Regions from separate parts of the Homo sapiens genome. Here all the other regions are linked to region 3. Evidence: promoter capture Hi-C in 16 types of primary human blood cells and fetal thymus (Javierre and others, 2016). All regions are on one chromosome and are shown on one strand. The core of a region is centred on a gene start or on the middle of the fragment in contact, and the rest is flanking DNA. Distances in the headings are between cores, read along the strand shown.

Region 1 (2,700 bases), core at 72-2,571, 240 kb after region 3:
ACATCCAATGTCATGAAGCTTTTCCCCTGTGTTTCCTTCTAAGAGTTTTATAGTCTTAGCTCTCACATTTAGGTCTTTTATTTTGAGTTAATTTGTATACGGTGTTAGGTAAGAGTCCAACTTTATATTTTTGCAGGTGGATATCCAGTTGTTGTGACACCATTTGTTGAAAGACTGTCCTTTCCCCATTGAATGGTCTTGACACCCTGTTGAAGATCATGTGACCATACATAAGGGTTTATTTCAGGACTGGAATTTCTTAAAGATTAAATAATACTGGATCCATCACTCACATTCCTCAATGTCCTGGTGCTCTGCGTGGTGAATTCCCGGATTCGGGGTGGGGTGCATCCAGCCCTGCCACCGGGCCCACTCACCGGGCGTCTTGGTTCTGCCTCTCCTTTCATGTTTCCAAAGCCAAACCTGGTATAAGAAGAATTTGAATCAATGTTTTTCTCAAATTATTTGCATGTAAAAGGAGTTCATTTTTTCACTTCCAACTAAATGTAAAGTGGTTAAGCAGTGGCATGGTGTCAGTGTTCATTTTGTCTACAATTGATACTAAAGAGTTGGATCTTGGTCAGGCGCAGTGGTGCTTGTAATCCCAGCACTTTGGGAGGCCAGGCTTGGTGGCGTGTTCCTGTAATCCCAGCTACTCAGAGGCTGAGGTAGAAGAATCGCTTGAACCCAGGAGGAGGAGGTTGCAGCGAGCTGAGATTGCGCCACTGCACTCCAGCCTGGGCAACAGAGTGAGACTCCATCTCAAAAAAAAAAAAAAATTCTAGTCCTGCCACCCCCCCACCCCGCGTGTTGCTTCACAACACATGAATCCCATATGTACCTGCTTCACACGCATGTTCTCTCTGTAACCCACCACTTTGTCTGATTGGTTGGCAGGTTACGTTTTTCTCTCGTCCCAGCTGTGTGGACAGTGCCACACGCCCTCCTGGACAACGACGGCTCTTGCGTGCATTTTCCAGTGTTGCTTTTGTCAGAGAGGCCAGCAGAGCCACGGTTCTTCCAGAACCAGCCCTGAGCTGAGTGAGGAGTGCCCAGGAGAGATGGTGAAAATGACAAAGTCCAAAACTTTCCAAGCGTATCTGCCGAACTGTCACCGAACGTACAGCTGTATCCACTGCAGAGCACACCTGGCCAATCATGACGAGCTCATCTCCAAGGCAAGTGGCTTATGCCAAAAAATTGATGGCACAATGATTATCTGTCATTGTGGTACCTACATAGTGGAAGAATATTTAAGCATCACATGACTTCCTGAGTCTGCTGTGTCCTGAACGTCTAGAGCCTTCTAGGCAGCATTGGTGAGCGTTTTGTGCATGGTTAAGTGTGGCTGTGCCACGATCTCAGATGTGATCCTGGCATGGTGGGCGGTTTTCCAGGGCCAGGCAGCTGGCACTCCCAGGGATTACGAGGGGCAAGGTGAATCACTTGTTACTCACAGCAGAAAGCCAGAGAGGACTGAATGAGCAAAAGAAGTCTAGAAAAATCTGTGGAAATGGTTTAATAATAAGGGTATTAAGACATTTTAAAAACTCAGCATGGTTAAGAAGGAAAGGGGTTGCTCAGAAAAATGCCCCAGAGGGTGTGGCTGCGTTTGTCGGTTGTGTAGGAGCCCTGGGTGAAGCTCTGGCTGGTCTCTGTGCATAGAACCCATGAGCAGCCTTGAAGATGTAAACAAGATCCCCTGGCCCCTCCTTACTGTGCTGAGCTCCTCATTAGCAGTGTGTGGCGTTGATCATCAACCAGTTGTGAACATTTAAACAGGCCAAACATCATGGAGGAGCTGATGCTCAGTCGGAATGACAGTGTTCTCCACCCATCCTCAGGTCATGACATCCCCCCAGCCTCAGGTCATGAACTCCCCGCATCCTCATACGTCATGACCACCGATCCTCAGGTCATGACCTCCCACATCCTCACAGGTCATGACCTCCCCCATGCTCAATTCATGACTTGCACCCATCCTCACGGATCATTACCTCCACTCATCCTTATAGGTCATGACCTCCCCCCATCCTCACAGGCCATGACCTCCCCCCATCCTCAGGTCATGACGTCTCCCCATCTTCACAGGTCACGACCACTTTGGGAACAAAGTTTGTCAGGAAGTTGTGCCTTTCAGAAATCTTTTCTTCTTTTTTTAAATAGGTATTTTATTTACTTTTATTTTTTCTTGTAGAGACAGGGTTTTACCATGTTGCCAAGGCTGGTCTTGTACTCCTGGCCTCAAGCGATCCTCCTGCCTTGGCCTCCCAAAGTGCTGGGATTATAGGTGTGAGTCACCACGCCCAGCCAGGAATCTCTTAGGTTTCCTGTTTAACTCAAGAGAAGAACATTTACCTGCTTGTATTTTCAGTAGGTAATAGTGAGAGGCTCCTCATTTCTGTTCATCATCTGAGATAGAAACTGTTGAACGAGGCAGAGTTTCTGCTCTCTCATTGCCTCTGGGGCTCCTGTGTGCACTGGGAAGTGTGAGGTGAGAAGTGGAAGGAGCCAGGCACCCCATTTCCTCGGTGTTTTCTGAGGTAGGCTTAGTGTGTAAAATGACATGAGGTAATGAGAGGCGGAGCTGCTCTGGGCCCCTGGGTAGGGGCAGTGAAGCTTGTGGCCTTGTGGAGCCCCGTGACACCTGTGTGTTGGCCATGACCTAAGCAGGTGACCTGAGCACTGAGAGGTGGTCAA
Region 2 (2,700 bases), core at 201-2,700, 190 kb after region 3:
TTCTATCTTCACATTCATGTTAAGATTCAGTGTTGCTTTCCTCTGGATCAGCGTGTCTGAATGGACAGTCAGGTTCAGGTTGTGCTGAACACAGAAATGCTCACAGGCCTCACTTTGCCGCCCAGGCACTGGCCCAGCACTTGGATTTACATAAGATGAGTTAGAAAGGTACTTCTGTAGGGTCCTTTTTACCTCTGCTCGGCAGAGAATCGATGCTGTCATGTTCCTTTATTCACAATCTTAGGTCTCAAATATTCTGTCAAACCCTAACAAAGAAGCCCCGACATCTCAGGTTGGATTCCCTGGTTCTCTCTAAAGAGGGCCTGCCCTTGTGCCCCAGAGGTGCTGCTGGGCACAGCCAAGAGTTGGGAAGGGCCGCCCCACAGTACGCAGTCCTCACCACCCAGCCCAGGGTGCTCACGCTCACCACTCCTGTGGCTGAGGAAGGATAGCTGGCTCATCCTCGGAAAACAGACCCACATCTCTATTCTTGCCCTGAAATACGCGCTTTTCACTTGCGTGCTCAGAGCTGCCGTCTGAAGGTCCACACAGCATTGACGGGACACAGAAATGTGACTGTTACCGGATAACACTGATTAGTCAGTTTTCATTTATAAAAAAGCATTGACAGTTTTATTACTCTTGTTTCTTTTTAAATGGAAAGTTACTATTATAAGGTTAATTTGGAGTCCTCTTCTAAATAGAAAACCATATCCTTGGCTACTAACATCTGGAGACTGTGAGCTCCTTCCCATTCCCCTTCCTGGTACTGTGGAGTCAGATTGGCATGAAACCACTAACTTCATTCTAGAATCATTGTAGCCATAAGTTGTGTGCTTTTTATTAATCATGCCAAACATAATGTAACTGGGCAGAGAATGGTCCTAACCAAGGTACCTATGAAAAGCGCTAGCTATCATGTGTAGTAGATGCATCATTTTGGCTCTTCTTACATTTGTAAAAATGTACAGATTAGGTCATCTTAATTCATATTAGTGACACGGAACAGCACCTCCACTATTTGTATGTTCAAATAAGCTTTCAGACTAATAGCTTTTTTGGTGTCTAAAATGTAAGCAAAAAATTCCTGCTGAAACATTCCAGTCCTTTCATTTAGTATAAAAGAAATACTGAACAAGCCAGTGGGATGGAATTGAAAGAACTAATCATGAGGACTCTGTCCTGACACAGGTCCTCAAAGCTAGCAGAGATACGCAGACATTGTGGCATCTGGGTAGAAGAATACTGTATTGTGTGTGCAGTGCACAGTGTGTGGTGTGTGCACACTCATTCCTTCTGCTCTTGGGCACAGGCAGTGGGTGTAGAGGTAACCAGTAGCTTTGAGAAGCTACATGTAGCTCACCAGTGGTTTTCTCTAAGGAATCACAAAAGTAAACTACCCAACCACATGCCACGTAATATTTCAGCCATTCAGAGGAAACTGTTTTCTCTTTATTTGCTTATATGTTAATATGGTTTTTAAATTGGTAACTTTTATATAGTATGGTAACAGTATGTTAATACACACATACATACGCACACATGCTTTGGGTCCTTCCATAATACTTTTATATTTGTAAATCAATGTTTTGGAGCAATCCCAAGTTTAAGGGAAATATTTTTGTAAATGTAATGGTTTTGAAAATCTGAGCAATCCTTTTGCTTATACATTTTTAAAGCATTTGTGCTTTAAAATTGTTATGCTGGTGTTTGAAACATGATACTCCTGTGGTGCAGATGAGAAGCTATAACAGTGAATATGTGGTTTCTCTTACGTCATCCACCTTGACATGATGGGTCAGAAACAAATGGAAATCCAGAGCAAGTCCTCCAGGGTTGCACCAGGTTTACCTAAAGCTTGTTGCCTTTTCTTGTGCTGTTTATGCGTGTAGAGCACTCAAGAAAGTTCTGAAACTGCTTTGTATCTGCTTTGTACTGTTGGTGCCTTCTTGGTATTGTACCCCAAAATTCTGCATAGATTATTTAGTATAATGGTAAGTTAAAAAATGTTAAAGGAAGATTTTATTAAGAATCTGAATGTTTATTCATTATATTGTTACAATTTAACATTAACATTTATTTGTGGTATTTGTGATTTGGTTAATCTGTATAAAAATTGTAAGTAGAAAGGTTTATATTTCATCTTAATTCTTTTGATGTTGTAAACGTACTTTTTAAAAGATGGATTATTTGAATGTTTATGGCACCTGACTTGTAAAAAAAAAAAACTACAAAAAAATCCTTAGAATCATTAAATTGTGTCCCTGTATTACCAAAATAACACAGCACCGTGCATGTATAGTTTAATTGCAGTTTCATCTGTGAAAACGTGAAATTGTCTAGTCCTTCGTTATGTTCCCCAGATGTCTTCCAGATTTGCTCTGCATGTGGTAACTTGTGTTAGGGCTGTGAGCTGTTCCTCGAGTTGAATGGGGATGTCAGTGCTCCTAGGGTTCTCCAGGTGGTTCTTCAGACCTTCACCTGTGGGGGGGGGGGTAGGCGGTGCCCACGCCCATCTCCTCATCCTCCTGAACTTCTGCAACCCCACTGCTGGGCAGACATCCTGGGCAACCCCTTTTTTCAGAGCAAGAAGTCATAAAGATAGGATTTCTTGGACATTTGGTTCTTATCAATATTGGGCATTATGTAATGACTTATTTACAAAACAAAGATACTGGAAAATGTTTTGGATGTGGTGTT
Region 3 (2,700 bases), core at 15-2,514:
TTGAGCCCAGGAGTTTGAGGCTGCAGTGAGCTGTGATCATGCCACTGCACTCCAGTGTGGGCACCAGAGAAGGAGCTTGTCTCTAAAAAGAGAGAAAAAGAATATTTTCAAGAGCCTCTGTGTTGGCAGAAAAATGGCCCTTCAGAGATGTTCATGTCCTATACCTGTGCCTGTGTTAGATTACATGGCAGACCCGGCATAGTGGCTCACGCCTGTACTGTAATCCCAGCACTTTGGGAGGCCGAGGCAGGCAGATCATTTGAGGTCAGGAGTTTGAGACCAGCCTGACCAACATGGTGAAACCCCATCTCTACTAAAAATACAAAAAAAATTAGCCGGGCATGGTGGTGCGTGCCTGCAGTCCCAGCTACTCGGGAGGCTGAGGCAGGAAAATCGCTTGAACCAGGGAGGCAGAGGTTGCAGTGAGTCGAGGTCATGCCACTGCAGTACAGCCTGGGTGACAGGGTGAGACTCCGTGTCAAAAAAAAATAATAATAATAATAAGGGGCAAAGGGGAATTAAGGTTGCTAATCAACTGATTTAGAGAGATGATGCTGGACTATCTGGGTGGGCCCAATGGCATCAGGAGGGTCTTTAGAAGTAGCAGAAGGAAGCAGAGGAGGGAACCAGAGGTGGCAGTGTGAGAAAGGCTCAACTGGCCATTGCTGGCTTCGAGGCTGTAGGAAGGGGCCACGAGCCAAGGTATGCAGGGAGCCCTTAGGAGCTGGAAAAGGCAGGGGAACAGTTTCTCCCCTAGAATCCTCAGAAAGGAACGCATTCTGGCGATCCCTGGATCTTCGCCCACTGAGGCTAAGTGGACTTCTGACCTCCAGAACGGAAAGATAACAAAAGCCTCAACGTTTGTGGAAACAAACAACTCATAATGAGCCTGGGACTGTGCCTCCTTCCCGGACGGATGAGCCTGCCTGGGCAGTCTGGGTTTGCATCCCTGCTCTGTCACTTACCAGCTATTGACGGCAGAAGTTGCTTAATTTCTGGGCGCTGTGACCTAGGGATTGCTTTCCCCATCCAGCCGCCCACCCAAAGCTGCAGAAGAGAAGCAAGAGGCTGGTGACTGGGGCGGCTCCGGAGCCCAGGTGGAGCCGCAGTTCGCCTACCACTAAAGGGCCGCAGTCACCGTCCACGTAGCCGCCAGGGGGCAGCAGAGGTCCGGCCCCGCCAGCCTGGAGGCCCGACTGCGCCTGCGCGGCGCCCGCGGCGCCCGCGGCGGCCAGGGACGGGAAGTGGGCGGGGCCGGCCGGCAGCAGCTTGCGGGACACGGAGCCGCGAGGAGACAGCTGAGGCCCGCGGAGACCAGGGGTGAGGAGGCCGGGGGGGACGGGATTAGAGGGCTGACGGGGCTGGGACGAGGGTCAGGCGAGCGCCCAAGGCGCACAGGGGTGAAATGGGACCGAGGAACCGGAGGGGTGGAATCAGAGGGCTGGGGAGGCAAGGAGGCCGAGACGAGGCTCACATGGGTGCACCGAAAGGGTGCGGGGGTGCAGTGCGGGGGGCCGAGGAGCAAGAGGGGCCGCTGCGGACATGAGGAACCCGAGGCTGGGAGTTGGGGGGCTGGGGAGCCAAGGGGGCAGAACTGGGGGGCAGGCGGGGGTGTGGCCGAGCCGAGGGCCTGGTAGGGACCGAGGGCTATGAGGCAGAATCGGGTGCTGAGGGGGACGCGCCCCATTTTCCGAGATTTGGCCTCTCCCCACCCCCCAGGAGCCTCTGGGCCGGCACGTTGCCCCATATCCCCCCAGTCCCTGCACCTTCAGGGGCCCAGTCTGCCTGATGGCCCCCGGCTCCGCGGCCTCCCAAGCGTCCGTGAAGCGAGCGTCAGCTGCACAAGTGCTCGGGCTGCAGCTGCTTCAGCCACAGGTCTGTGAGCCAGAGCCTCAGGCGCGGAGGCCGGGCACATTGCCGCTGGGTTCGGTCAGGCAAGCCCCTGAACCTGTCTGTACAACAGGAAGAACTGGCTCCGGCTGCAGGGATTTCGGCACAGCGCTTGACACACAGTGAGGCCCACTGCATGGTGGCGGGCTCCTTCGAAGCCTTCCACCCTGCGGGACAGAGTCACACATGTCGTGGTGGCATTCCCCGGGACAAGTTCTCTGGGCCCAGCTGAGCTCTCACCACGGGGGATAGAAAGTGGGGCCGGCCAGCACTCTGAGGCCATCTCCAGTCTCTTCTGTTGTCAAATTTCGCTCTTTTCCTCCTGCACGCGAGGTGGAAATACCAAAGGCATTGGGCATCCAGAGACCTTGATTGAGTTCGCTTTGCCCTTTCACCTGTGTGAGACCTTAAATGGGTGCTTGCCCTCCTATAACCTATTTCTTCATCTGCAGTGTAGCCTGACAGTATGTACTTCTCAGCGTAGTTGTGAGAGGTAAACAAAACGAATGCATTTCTGAAAGCCATGAACCTCTACACAAGTTCATTTGTGGAATTCCTTTAAGATACCCCCTGAAGGCCGGGCGCGGTGGCTCATACCTGTAATCCCAGCACTTTGGGAGGCCGAGGCAGGCATATCACCTGAGGTCAAGAGTTCCAGACCAGCATGGCAAAATCCCATCTCTACTAAAAATACAAAAATTAGCCGCGCGTGGTGGCAGGTGCCTGTAATCCTAGCTACTCAGGAGGCTGAGGCAGGAGAATTGCTTGAACCTGGGAGGCGAAGGTTGCAGTGAGCTGAGATCCCACCAT
Region 4 (2,700 bases), core at 74-2,573, 220 kb after region 3:
CTGCCGTCCTGTAACAGTGACACATGCTCCTGCCGTAAGGCCCTGGTCAGACACCTAAACTGTGCCCAAGGATCATCCCCCTTAACATCTCATGTGACTCTGACTGCCCTGTAAATTGCACGTTACCCCACTTTACAAAGAAGGTAGCAGAACTTGGCTTCAGGTCCCAGAGCCAACAAACACGTGGCACATTTTGCATCAAAGCCTGGGAAGCCTCTCAAAGCAAGTCAGACCCTCTTTCACCTTTGTCCTGGGGGTGATGACATCCCTGTTGCCAAACCTCACCTACTCCCTCCCTCGTGGTGCCACCTGCCTTCTCAGCAGCATTGGCATATACCCCCGCCACCCAAACGCTTCCCCCTCACCTTTTCTGGTTCCTCTTTGTGTATCTGTTTTTTTTTTTTTTTTTCCCCCCTTCTCTTGCCCCAAGACAGGGCCTTTAATGTCTGATGAGACTTTATTTAGCATGAGGGTAAATAAAGTAGTTTTTAAGATTCTCAACCTCTTTTCTTCTATCTCAATCCAGTCTTCTGGGTGTGGTACCCACTCTTTCAACCTAACAAGGCTAGTGTTGCACATAGTTCCTACACCTCCCCTTTTCTTTCTTTTTTTTTTTTGACACAGGGTCTCACTCTGTCATCCAGGCTGGAGTGCAGTGGCGATCACCTCAGCCTCCCGAGTAGCTGGGACGACAGGCACGTGCCACCACACCTGGTTAATTTTTAAATTTTTTTTTAGAGACGGGTTTTCGCCATGTTGCCCAGGCTGGTCTCGAACTCCTGACCTCAGATGATCCTCCCACCTTGGCCTCTTAAAGTGCTGGGATTACAGGCATGAGTCACCATGCACAGCCCCCTCTTCTTGTTGTTAGCAAGAAAGCACCTCTACTGGGATGTGTCCCAGGGCCTTGGTTGTGGGAAACTTTGTTACTAATGGTAGAAAAAAAAATGTAGTACAGGTTCTTTGAAAAGAAGCGCTCAGTACAAGCACATTATCAGTAGTCTCAGGAGAGGTGGTAGAGGTAGTACTTGAGCACAGGTGGGAGGAGAGATGGAGGAGAGAGCCTGGAGGGCCGAGGCACCTGGGGCCACTGGGCAATGGAGGAGCCAGGCCCCTTGGGTTCCCCAGAGAGCAGGGGCTGGTGGGGAGTCTACAGAGGGCCATGGAGCTTTGTCTCAGGGCAGCCATATAGGTGGTTTGATGCTGTCAGTGAGTCCCATTGTGCACCTAGGCTGCAGTTCCTGAAATGTGGAGGGGAGCTTTTCCTCCTGTAATGCAAGTAGGGAGGAAGTGGATGTGTGTGGATGGAAGCTGGAATTGCCAAAGGCAAATTGTACCCATGCTGTTGCCCTTTGTTGTAAATTTTTCCAGACCTTTCCACACCTGTGACTTCATGTACTATGTGAGAGTTTGAATAGTCAGTGTGGGCCAGATGCTGTAGCTCACGCCTGTAATCCCAACACTTTGGGAGGCCAAGGCGGGTGGATCACTTGAGGTCAGGAGTTCAAGGCAAGCCTGGCCAACATGGTGAAACCCCATCTCTACTAAAAATACAAACTTAGCCAGGCATGGTGGGAGGTGCCTGTAGTCCCAGCTATTTGGGAGACTGAGGCACAAGAATTGCTTGAATCCAGGAGGCGGAGGCTGCAGTGAGCCAAGATCGTGCTACTGCACTCCAGCCTGGGAGACAGAGCGAGACTCTGGAAGCCCCATGATGGAAATGTCCCTGATGTGTGTTTATCAGTGCATTTGGCCAGTCTCTTTTGGTTAAACTTTGTTGTTGTTGTTGCTTTTGTTGAGAAGGAGTCTCGCTCTGTTGCCCAGGCTGGAGTACAGTGGCACAATCTTGGCTCACCACAACCTCTGCCTCCCGGGTTCAAGCAGTTCTCCCGCCTCAGCCTCCCTAGTAGCTGAGACTAAAGGTGCCCACCACCACACCGAGCTAATTTTTGTATTTTTAGTAGAGACGAGGTTTCACCATGTTGGTTGGCCAGGCTGGTCTCGATCTCCAGACCTCAGGTGATCTGCCCATCTCGGCCTCCTAAAGTGCTGGGATTACAGATGTGAGCCACCGTGCTAGCCTCTATTGGTTAAACTTGAGGTGGTTTCTAATCTTTTATTACAGGCAGTATTATTATAGGATGATATTTTGTTATTTCAGGTAATAACTGCTTTTATCCAGTTATTTTGCACATGTGCATCAGCCAAAGGTGAACTCCCCAGATGAACCCCCATCCAGGGCTGTGCTCCTAGGAATGTTGTGGGTGTTGCCAAATGGCTGGATCACAGAGCACCTTCACCAGTGGTGTTGTCAACTTCTTAAATTTTTAAATTTAATTTATTATTTGTAGAGACTGTCTCGCTCTGTCGCCCAGCCTGGAGTGCAGTGGTGTGATCATGGCTCACAGCAACCTTGACCTCCTGGCCTCAAGTGATCCTCCCATCTCAGCCTCCCAAGTAGCTGGGACTACAGGTGCACACCCAGCTCATTTTTTTTTTTTTTTTTAGAGATGGGGGTCTTGCTGTGTTGGCCAGGCTGATCTTGAACTCCTGGCCTCAAGTAATCTTCCCACCTTGGCCTCCCAAAACACTGGGATTACAGGCATGGGCCACCCCTGACCTTATCAACTTTTTTTTTGAGATAAGATCGTACTCTGTCACCAATGCTGGAGTGCAGTGGTGTGATCTCGGCTCACTGCA
Region 5 (2,700 bases), core at 91-2,590, 130 kb after region 3:
TCAGGCAGGTCTCAAACTCCTGACCTCAGGTGATCCACCCGCCGCAGCCTCCCAAAGTGCTGGGATTACAGGCATGAGCCACTGCACCCAGCCTCTATGTCTATCTCCTCTCATAGTTTATGAGGGCAGAGAGCTTTATATTTTTACTGCTTTATCCACAGTGCTTAACATAATGTAGGTGATTATTTGATAAATAAAATTAACTTTAACATTCAAATGTTTTTAAAGTTATTTGATGCACATCCTTTACGATCCCAAACTGACGTTTTTTTTCTCTTGAATACAAACTTCTGTACTAGTTTCCTGTCTCTGCCATTTCCACTGAATCTATAAATTGCCCTTATAACAAGAGTTCTCATCTTTTTTTTTTTTTTTTAATGACGTGAATCCTTTAGGCAGTTGGTGAAACTTGTGGCTCCTTTTCAGATTAATATTTTAAATGAATAAAATAAAATGTGAGATTACAAAGGGAATCAGTTATGCTGAAATACCACTTTTGAAAAATTAAGAAGTCTTTATATGTGCTTCTTTACTAATGCCGTAAATAGCAAGATCAGGCAGCAGGTCTAACAAGCACTGTAATTTCAAAGTGTTGATGGGTATAGATATTTCAAGAATTATAACTGGTCTCCCTATGTCTAGTTTTAGCCTCTTTAGTCAGTTTTTTTTTTCTTTTTTTTTCCTTTTTGAAATGGAGTTTTGCTCTGTCGCCCAGGCTGGAGTGCAGTGGCACGATCTCGGTTCACTGCACCCTCCACCTCCTGGGTTCAAGCAGTTCTTCTGCCTCAGCCTCCCAGGTAGCTAGAATTACAGGAGCCTGCCACTACGTGCCTGGCTAATTTTTGTATTTTTGGTAGAGACAGGGTTTCACCATGTTGGTCATGCTGGTCTTAAACTCCTGACTCCAGGTGATCCACCTGCCTTAGCCTCCCAAAGTGCTTGGGATTACAGGCGTGAGCCACCACGCCTGGCCTTCAGTCAGTTCTATACCTGTGTTTCTGATTCCCTTCCCCTCCCCTCCCCTCCCCTGCCTTCCCTGAGACAGAGTCTCACTCTGTCACCCAGGCTGGAGTGCAATGGCATGATCTTGGCTCACTGCAGCCACCGCCTTCTGGGTTCAAGTGATGCTCCTGCCTCAGCCTCCCAAGTAGCTGGGATTACAGGCACGCACAACCATGCCTAATTTTTGTGTTTTTAGTAGATACAGGGTTTCACCATGTTGGCCAGGCTGGTCTTGAACTCCTGACCTCAGGTGGTCCACCTGCCTCAGCCTCCCAAAGTGCTGGGATTACAGGCATGAGCCACCACATCCAGACTCTTCATCTTCTGTTATTGAAGTAAAGTACAGATTTCTCAGCTTTTTAGTAACATCACCTTTTGTTCTTCCCCTGGACAGGTGTAAACTCCAGCCATATTGAACTATCCAGCACCTGGTACCCAGCCTTCCGTGCTTCAGCTTCTGTAGCTCCTTCTTCCTTAAGTGCTTTTTCGTGTGCTGCCTATTAAAATCCTACCTGCTTTTCAAGGCACCATTAAATACCACCTTCTTAGAGAGAGGTCCACAGATACTAACATAGAGCAGAGCCTGACAGATAATAAACACTCAATAAATTGTAGGTATTATTAAGTGAGAATTGTTCATAACTTCTTTTCAATACCATCATTACCTGGTTCCCAATAAATGAACTGTAAATATTTTGAGTAATATACATCTATAAACTAAGACAAAGCAGTATTATCAGTAAGTGTAAGCAAGTTTAAAGTGAATGCGTAAATGATTAATGTGTAGAATTTATTTTTAATCTCAGTTTAAATGTTTGTCAGTTTTAATCAGAGCATAGTGAGAAAATGATTTCATGGGCAGACATGGACATTTCTTATTCTTCATACTTAATCACAAACCCCACCAATCTATAATAAGATTGATTTCGAGTACTGTCAGTCTTTTTTTGTGAAACAGAATCCTCAAGCTCCTAAGAATTCTGTTTTTTGGCCGGGCGCGGTGGCTCACGCCTGTAATCCTAGCACTTTGGGAGGCCGAGACGGGCGGATCACGAGGTCAGGAGATCGAGACCATCTTGGCTAACACGGTGAAACCCCGTTTCTACTAAAAATACAAAAAATTAGCCGGGCGTGTTGGCGGGCGCCTGTAGTCCCAGCTACTTGGGAGGCTGAGGCAGGAGAATGGCATGAACCTGGGAGGCGGAGCTTGCAGTGAGCCGAGATCGCGCCACTGCACTCCAACCTTGGGAGACACAGCGAGACTCCGTCTCAAAAAAAAAAAAAAAAAAGAATTCTGTTTTTTAATACCTTTAATGTACTTAAATTGCTAATGAGTGTATATGTCTGCCTCATATAAAATACACCAAAAACGGAAGTCTTCACATAGGAAGAAACAAGACTTTAAAGTACTGTGTATTGCATTAACCATATTAACATTTGTTGCTTTTCACACGGTAGTAAATATGGTGTTGAAAGGAGGAGACGGGCGGGCGCAGTGGCTCATGCCTGTAATCCCAGCACTTTGGGAGGCTGAGGCGGGCGAATCACAAGGTCAGGAGTTCAAGACCAGCCTGACGAACATGGTGAAACCCCGTCTCTACTAAAAATACAAAAATTAGCCGGGCATGGTGGCACACGCCTGCTACTCAGGAGGCTGAGGCAGGAGGGTCGCTTGAACCTGGGAGGCGGAGGTCGCAG

Evidence for each region. The method cuts DNA at HindIII sites, captures the fragments that hold promoters and counts their contacts. A CHiCAGO score of 5 or more calls a contact.
Region 1: a contact is called between a fragment that was not itself captured here and the fragment with the promoter of PPM1F in region 3, in 17 of 17 cell types (endothelial precursors, M2 macrophages, M1 macrophages and 14 more). The highest score is 16.5, in endothelial precursors.
Region 2: a fragment that was not itself captured here is called in contact with the fragment with the promoter of PPM1F in region 3 in 4 of 17 cell types (neutrophils, M1 macrophages, endothelial precursors and 1 more); the score reaches 6.4 in neutrophils.
Region 4: a contact is called between a fragment that was not itself captured here and the fragment with the promoter of PPM1F in region 3, in 8 of 17 cell types (neutrophils, endothelial precursors, M0 macrophages and 5 more). The highest score is 9.9, in neutrophils.
Region 5: a fragment that was not itself captured here is called in contact with the fragment with the promoter of PPM1F in region 3 in 1 of 17 cell types (neutrophils); the score reaches 6.5 in neutrophils.

What each region holds. Positions count from the first base shown.
Region 1 is chr22:21,709,106-21,711,805 of GRCh38, reverse strand. YPEL1 (yippee like 1) reads left to right here. Exons shown (of 5, transcript NM_013313.5): 2 at 898-1,178. The coding sequence starts at 1,062. Among named protein-coding and RNA genes, the nearest start is that of YPEL1, 25 kb to the left of the region's middle. RefSeq lists an enhancer at 564-1,763. The HindIII fragment of the contact is 2,601 bases long and covers 21-2,621 here.
Region 2 is chr22:21,759,900-21,762,599 of GRCh38, reverse strand. It overlaps MAPK1 (mitogen-activated protein kinase 1), which reads left to right. Exons shown (of 9, transcript NM_002745.5): 9 at 1-2,700. Among named protein-coding and RNA genes, the nearest start is that of YPEL1, 25 kb to the right of the region's middle. The HindIII fragment of the contact is 819 bases long and covers 1,041-1,859 here.
Region 3 is chr22:21,951,412-21,954,111 of GRCh38, reverse strand. It overlaps PPM1F (protein phosphatase, Mg2+/Mn2+ dependent 1F), which reads left to right and starts at 1,264. Exons shown (of 8, transcript NM_014634.4): 1 at 1,264-1,320. RefSeq lists a silencer at 1,072-1,481 and enhancers at 1,475-1,995, 2,042-2,111. The HindIII fragment of the contact is 22,373 bases long and covers 1-2,700 here.
Region 4 is chr22:21,729,249-21,731,948 of GRCh38, reverse strand. All of the region lies in intron 1 of YPEL1 (yippee like 1), which reads left to right. Among named protein-coding and RNA genes, the nearest start is that of YPEL1, 5.2 kb to the left of the region's middle. RefSeq lists a silencer at 1,755-1,942. The HindIII fragment of the contact is 9,152 bases long and covers 1-2,700 here.
Region 5 is chr22:21,820,408-21,823,107 of GRCh38, reverse strand. The region is part of intron 1 of MAPK1 (mitogen-activated protein kinase 1); the gene reads left to right. Among named protein-coding and RNA genes, the nearest start is that of MAPK1, 46 kb to the left of the region's middle. The HindIII fragment of the contact is 3,359 bases long and covers 1-2,700 here.